Linked DNA regions of Homo sapiens: region 2 is linked to region 1. Evidence: promoter capture Hi-C in 16 types of primary human blood cells and fetal thymus (Javierre and others, 2016). All regions are on one chromosome and are shown on one strand. Each heading gives the region's core, a stretch centred on a gene start or on the middle of the fragment in contact. The rest is flanking DNA. Distances are from core to core; before and after follow the strand shown.

Evidence for each region. The method cuts DNA at HindIII sites, captures the fragments that hold promoters and counts their contacts. A CHiCAGO score of 5 or more calls a contact.
Region 2: a contact is called between a fragment that was not itself captured here and the fragment with the promoter of DOK7 in region 1, in 2 of 17 cell types (naive CD4 T cells and M0 macrophages). The highest score is 5.2, in naive CD4 T cells.

Annotation. Positions count from the first base shown.
Region 1 is chr4:3,461,169-3,464,890 of GRCh38, reverse strand. It overlaps DOK7 (docking protein 7), which reads right to left and starts at 1,585. Exons shown (of 7, transcript NM_173660.5): 1 at 1,462-1,585; 2 at 1,340-1,385. The coding sequence starts at 1,515. RefSeq lists an enhancer at 1,960-2,807. The HindIII fragment of the contact is 8,339 bases long and covers 1-3,350 here.
Region 2 is chr4:3,190,401-3,194,032 of GRCh38, reverse strand. The region is part of intron 40 of HTT (huntingtin); the gene reads right to left. Among named protein-coding and RNA genes, the nearest start is that of MSANTD1, 57 kb to the left of the region's middle. The HindIII fragment of the contact is 7,428 bases long and covers 1-3,632 here.

The DNA of each region.
Region 1 (3,722 bases), core at 336-2,835:
GGGGGACCCATTGCAAACTCCTGTCACTCCACTCAGGCACTCACCGGCCGGGGGAGCACACCCTCTTGAGGCTGGCAGGCCCTGCCTCCTGGGACTGTCTGATGCAGAAAGAAAATCCCTCCAACAGGGACAAAGACTTCTCCCCCGACACTCCTCTTTGGGGGCTGCTGTCCCGGGTGCCTTCCTGGGATGCGGCCTCTCTGGAGGGTCTGCACCGGCTCCAGCCCAGCACCATCCACCAAGCATCACCTGCCCCACCACGGCCCCGACCCAGCCACAGCTGACTAAAGCCTGTCATCCGCCCCAGCCTGGCAGGGCCTCTCACTCTGCCCAGACCCCATCCCTTCCTATACCAGGTCCCCTGCAGCCCCGGAGGACAAAGACGCCCTCCCAGGCTCTGTCGGTGCCCCCACAGCTCCAGGCAGGAGGTCTGGGCACGGAGGGCTGAGTGGAGAAGTGACCAGCGTGCAGTCCAGGCCCTGCAAGGGGAGGCGGAGGCAGGCAGGAAGTGCTTTCCTCCAGGACCACCTGAGGCCCTGCAGAGGGGACGCAGGAGGGATCCCTGCCCCACACCCTCCCTGGGAGTCACAGACACCCGTCCTGGAGGGTGCTCTGGCAGCCCCCTGGCGTACAGCCCCCCATGCACACAGGCCGAGCATCCCACCCAGACCCGGGCCTGGCCGGCTCTGCCGCACCTGTCCTCTGGAGCAGCTGCAGGCCCGGCTCAGCCCTCCCTACAGGCCCAGCGCTGCAGGCGGCCTGGGCTGCCAGACCTGGGGGCTCCATGCTGACCCTCCCCAAGCTGGGGTGCTGGCTCAGGGCGGGGACTGGGGGGGGACCCCTGCCTCCTCCCAGAGGACTGTTCCCCCAGCAATGTGGCAGTCACTCTGCCCTGCCCTACCGCAGCCCAGCCTCTCGTCTGCCTGGGAGGGGTCCAGGGTCAGCGCTAACCCACGCAGCACCCCTGGAGGCTGGGTTCGGGGGCCCTGCTCTGAGCGTTTCCACAAGCACAGCTCAACCCTCAGGTATGTGGGGCTTTGCTTCTGGGGGGCCCCTTGCTGCTCTGCTGGGGGGCTCAGGGCCTGCGTCCCCTCCGCCTACAGGGCCACCAGGCAGCCCCTCGGGCCTCAGTCTGCCCTGCTGGAAAGAGGGTTCTTCCGTCCAGGGCCCCCACCTGCGCTCCCAGGGGCGCCGGGGGGTCCGGGTCCGCACGGGGCTCTCGGGTTTCCCGGCGGGGTGACAGCGGCGGCGATTTTGGGCAAGCTGGCATTACTGCCCCGGGCCTCGGTAACCCGTGTCGCTACCCCCGCGCCCCCCGTCCCCCGCCCGCCCCGCTCACCTGCCACGGGCGACGGCTTCCGCAGCACCAGCCACCTACTCTTCCACTGCGGGGACAGGGGGGAGCGTGAGCCGCCGCCCGCGCCCGCGCCCCCCCCCCCCGCGCCCCCGACGCGCCCCGACCTTCTTGCCGTCCCGCAGCTTGACCTGGCCCTCCACCAGCGCCGCCTCGGTCATCTTCTGTCATGGTTCCGCGCCGCCGCGCTCGCCCCGGCGCCCCAGCCCAGGGTCACTTTCAAAATAGCTCGCAGGGCCCTGGGCTGGGCCAGGAGGGCGGGCCCGCGGGCAGGGCGGCGACACCGGCGACTCCAGGGCCGGCGCGGGCGGGGCTCCTTCTCCTGCGGGCGGCTCCCCCACCCCCACGGGCCCCTCTGGCCCCACCGTCCCGCGGCGGCCACTGGAGCCGCCCGCCCTCTGGAGCAAGCGCACCATCTGGGCTCAGACGCTCAGACCAGCGCCTGGCGGGGCGGGGGTCGGGCGGGGACTTCTTTTTCAAAAAGCAGAGACAACCACCTAGCAGACATCGGCCCCGCTCTGGGCACTGCTCCCAACTTTAAAGTTGGTCTTCAAACAATCCGGCTTCCCAGACTGGCATCTGCCCCTACCCCAGGGGTCACTAGACACCCGGACAACAGACTGGCCACAGGCAGCCCAGGCCTAGGATGCTCTCACATCCCCAGGCTTCCCCCACACTGAGGTGACCCCTCCCCAGGCAGGCAGTAGGGGTCGGGGAGCCCCTGGCAGCCTCTGTCTCTTCCTCCATTTCTGTTCCCATTAAAAGCCTGCAGGGACCCCAGTGCAGGTGGGCGGGTCCAGGACCCACAGTGCCGCCTCAGGGCCCCAGGTCTCCACCTCTTCTGCCCCCATCCCAGGCAAGAGCAGGCCCTGGTTAGGCCAGCCGGCTCCGATGGGCAGAGGAGCTGCCTGCTTTGTAAAGGACCTGCCAGCAGCCCTCCCAGCTGGGTGGACTTTGCGCTTCTGGACTCCCCCTCCTTGACCCTGTGGCTCCAGTCCAGCTGTCCCCAAGCTCTGGCCTGGGCATTAGATGTCACATCCAGGTTCTTCTGCAGAGAGGCCATGTGCTTTGGGGGACCTGGCAGGTCCGTGCCTTGGGTGTCAGCCCCATCCGAGAGACGGCCTCCACCACCCTGGGGTTGGGGACACCCAGCAGATACGGGAACAGCAGTGGGGAGGGGCGATGGCACCCTAGAAGATAAGCACCTGGACAAACAGCAAAGCTCCGTCCACATGCCCTACCCTAGACCCCATCCTCACGGGGCTGACGGTTCTCGGGGGAGAAGAAGGAAGGGGTAGACAGTGTCCCGTTAGGGAGGAGACGTCTTCATTTCATCCCATCCAGACCCTAGGCTGGGCTCTGTCTGCCTCGCACTGAGGAGCAAATGGAATCAGGGCAGCGTGAGGCCTCACAGCCAGGACTGAGCCACATCGGCTGACCTCAGAGCAGGGCTCAGAGGCATCGGGAGCCCTGGGCGCCCCTCCCCACTGCCCCTGTGATCCAAGAGACAGGTCTCCGGTGGGCCACAAGGGTTGGCTTTGGTGCTTCGGTGATGTCTTGTCAGGGCCTCATGCAAGGCGGGGGACACCAGGCCCAGGAAGCAGAATTTTGCATCCCCCACCCACCCCCGCAGTCACCTGTGCAGCCACCAGCCGCCTTCCGCAGAACAGTTGCTGGGTCACAGAGCCCCATTCATGCTCCCCACACATCCCAGGCCCCCAAGGGGCTGGCCCAGGACAGCCGGTGCGGAGGCGGGGGCCGTTGGGGCTGTAGCCACAGACACATCCGCTGCCCTGGGCGCCTGGCACTTGCTTATCCCTACAGGGAGAGGCAGGGCCCTGCTGCATTCCTGAGTGCTGGCCCGGGCCCAGGCTCCTGCCATGCCTGGCAGCTGCACCTGCTCCCACACAGCCTGGAACACACAGGATGCCGGAGGGTAGACAACTCCCTTCCCTGCTCCATGCGGCTCCAGGGCTGCTGAAAGGTGGAGGAAGCTTCCTGCAGGAGGAGGAGGTGGCCTGGCTGCCACTCCCAGACTGGCCGAGAGCGCTGTGACCCTGGGCAAGCTCCTGCCCCGCTCCGTGCCTCAGAAGTTATAGCCAGAAGTTTCCCCAGAAGTTATAGCCAGGGTTGCTGGTTGCAAATGGAGAAATAGGCTGGCCACTGAGTAGGAAGGGGTTGATTGGAAGCAAATCAGGTCTCCAAGAACCAAGGGGAAGGCTGGAGAGCTGGTAGGCAGTGAAAACAGAGCCACATCCTGAAAGAGGAGGACACCACAGCTCAGCCCCACAGCACAGCTGGGCTCCACACGAGGGGCAGGGTCACCACCTTCAAAGGAGCCCACAGTCTCAGGTCACAGCAGCACCCC
Region 2 (3,632 bases), core at 347-2,846, 270 kb after region 1:
CCAATCAAATACAGTAATTCTGCCACCTAGTGTCTTTCAAATAAATGCAGTCAAAGGAAACAAGAAGACAGAAACACACATTTATATATACACACACACACAACTTACTTGCAAATGTTGGGCAGATTAAATAAGGTCAAAAGATACCAGCAGGAAACCCACGTGCCCTCTCCAAGCCCTCCACTCCCACCAGTAAAGCTGCTTCTCAACAGACCTGCACTGTCTCATACAGGAGCCACTATCCACACAGAGCTGTTTAAATTTAAGTTAATTAAAATTAAATAAAATTATAAATTAAGCTATCCAATCAGACCAGCCACATTTCAGGTACAGAACACCACATGTGGCTAAAGGCAACTAAATTAGACAGTGCAGACATCCTGTCTCTGCTGGAAGTCCTATTGGACAACACTTCAACAGTAACAATATTTTGCCTCAATTGTGAGATGGAAGGAGAGGAAATCAGCGCAATAAGACAGTGACCACATTTGAGCTGCACAGAGATCGCTCGGACATGTAGAAGGACACAGAACACACCACCCTTATCCCACAAAGGCAAGACTAGTCCTTAGAAATGAGGCTGTCTCCTCCTGGCATCAAATCCAAACCAACTGGTGGCAAAATATTAAAATGACCAACATACTAAAATTGACCTATCATTCATTAACAAGCCATATTTTCTCAACTTTAAACTTATTACAGTGGTCAGTGAAGCATAATCCGAAGATCTTTAAAAAGAAACAAGAAAATTATTTCAATAATAGCAAGTAAGGCTCAAAAACTAGAGTCCACTATGAAAATTAAATTTTGGCCATGGCCTGTGCGGAGGGTGACAGCAGCTGAATGCAGAGGCCATGAAGAGGCCCCTTTCTCCAGGATTCTGTGGCGCCGTGCGGCCGGGCCCTACCGGCATCCTGCCTGCCTGCCTGTACTCTCAGCTGCTCTCTTGGGTGCCGGAACTCTTCTCTGCAAAAAGCTAGCTACTTCTCTCCCTCAGAAATCCTGCCTCTGCCTGCCCACCCATTTCGTCTGTCACTGCACTACTGTTCTTCTTCATAGGAAATATCAAGACTTGTGATACTGACGCACTGACTGGAAGTTCCGTGCAGGCAAGAGCCAGGATGCTCAACTGAACTTGGCACAACCAGAGCCTGCTAGCATGGAGGCGGGCCACGCCAAGAGTATCCTCAAATGGACCAAGGCTGAAAATGCTATCTTTTACTCTAAGATATGTATGCAAAATGTGTACAAAAATCCAGTAAGAGAAAGGAGCTTTGATCACAAAAGCACCCTGCTCCCATCCCTTTTTAAGGCAACTACTTGTTATCATTTCTGTTTTCAGTTCTGGTAGTTACCTCCAAAATTCTAACTGCTGTGCTGCTATCCCTTGCAGCAGACCATCAGTTACTGCATGTGCTCCTCTCCCTTACTCCCGGAGACCAGCCCCACCTCCTCATCAATGGAATGCTGTCCAGTCTCCCATTTGGCCCATGTGGACCAGAGCATTCAGGGGTTTATGGTCACCCATATTACTCATGCAAGGCCAATCACATAGGCCTACTTGAGGGGCTGAGAACACAGCCTGCTAGAGGTCATCTTCGGTCATGTGAAAACAGCCCACCAGAGAACAAAACTAACACAGGAAGCAGAGATGAGACTGGGCGTGGTGGGTGACACCTATAACCTCAGCATTTTGGGAGGCAGAGGCAGGAGGATCGCCTGAAGCTAAGAGTTAAAGACCCGCCTGGGCAACACAGCAAGACTTCCATTTCTACAAAAAAATTTTAAAACCTATCCAGGCATGTTGGTACATGCCTATTGTCTCAGCTACTTAGAAGGCTGAGGCAGGAAGAACTCTAGAGCCCAGGAGTTCGAGGCTAGAGTGAGCCTCGCACTGCACTTCATGCCACTGCACTTCAGCCTAGGCGACAAAGTGAGACCCTATCTTTAAAATAAAATTTAAAAATTATATAAATGAAAAGAAGAAAGCAGAGCTGAGATGCATAAATATACAATGCAGACCACAGAATTACAACACTAGATGCAGTCCTACCAACTACCCTTGCCTGCACTTTCCAGGAGCTTAAACCAACACATTCTTTCTCTTACTCTAGTTTAAACTGGGGTTTTATCCCTGCAACTGAAAGACTGTTGAATACAATCACCACATCATAATTTGTCATGATTTATAGACTTCAGACAACTTTAGACATCACCCATTAACTCTACCGTAATAAAGATGAGATTTAGCTCATTTATACTACCTCCTAACAATCTGAATTACATGTTTAGTTCTATTTGGAGACCTCTGAAGCCTCTATATTTTGGTCTGTCAACTTCAGATGATGTAACCATATAATCCCAACAATGCTAGGTGAAGATTTTAGTTCCCCTTCCACTCCCCACCTCTATCTCTACCATCTACTTGCCAAATTAACTTGGTTAGTTTTCCTTTTATATTCATCAGAACCGAAGACATTTTCATTCTGTTCTGAAACCATAATTAAGTCAGTAAGTCTTCAGTGTTTCAGTCATACATTGATTTCAAAAATGAAAGCTCGGGCCGGGTGCGGTGGCTCACACCTGTAATCCCAGCACTTTGGGAGGCCGAGGCGGGTGGATCACCTGAGGTCAGGAGTTCGAGACCAGCCTCAACATGGAGAAACCCTGTCTCTACTAAAAATACAAAAAATTAGCCAGGCGTGGTGGTGCATGCCCGTAATCCCAGCTACTCGGGAGGCTGAGGCAGGAGAATTGCTTGAACCTGGGAGGCAGAGGTTGCGGTGAGCCGAGATGGCACCATTGCACTCCAGGATGGGCAACAAGAGTGAAACTCTGTCTCAAAAAAAAAAAGAAAGAAAGAAAGAAAGAAAGAAAGCTCAAGCAGTATTTACATTATGACTATCTGAATCTAGTTCCCAAGAGAGCCAAGGATCCTAGAAGGATGGCATCTCTTTCTATAGGTCTTTGATCGTGACTCCTAAGCCGCTTAAAGGAGAACCTTTTTAATATCAAGGGCTTCCAACAGATCAACTGCTGAACAATCAAGCCACATTTTGGTTTGCCTCATATTTGGACCATGACTTAATGCTGTTTGCTGTTACTAGAAATTAGAATTGCCTTTCTATTTTCTTGAGAGAAGAAAGACGTGCCTATCCCCTAGAACTAGGCTTCTAGCTATTTAGTCATTTATTTAAAGCAAAGCATTCTCATTACAAACGATCGTTCTTCTTGGAAAACACACTGTCCTAATTTGGACTGGCTGCTTTCCATGCTTGCTGCACAGCTGGCATCTTATGACTTTCTTGGGTTCACTGTCCTTGTCATTTTCTTTCTCTAGAGACATGGTCTCGATCTCGCCCAGGCTGGAGTGCAGTGGCATGATCATGGCTCACTACAGCTTGACCTCCTGGGCTCAGGCTCATGCCACTACTCCTGGCTATTTTTTTTTATTTTTTTATTTTTGTGGAGATGGGGTCTCTTGCTATGTTGTCCAGGCTGGTCTCAAGCTCAAGCGATCACCCCGCCTCAGCCTCCCAAAGTGCTGGGATTTCAGGTGTGAGCTACCATGCCCAACCTTCACCGTCCTTGATCATTTGTAAAAGTAACAAAAACATCTTGGCCTCCAAATT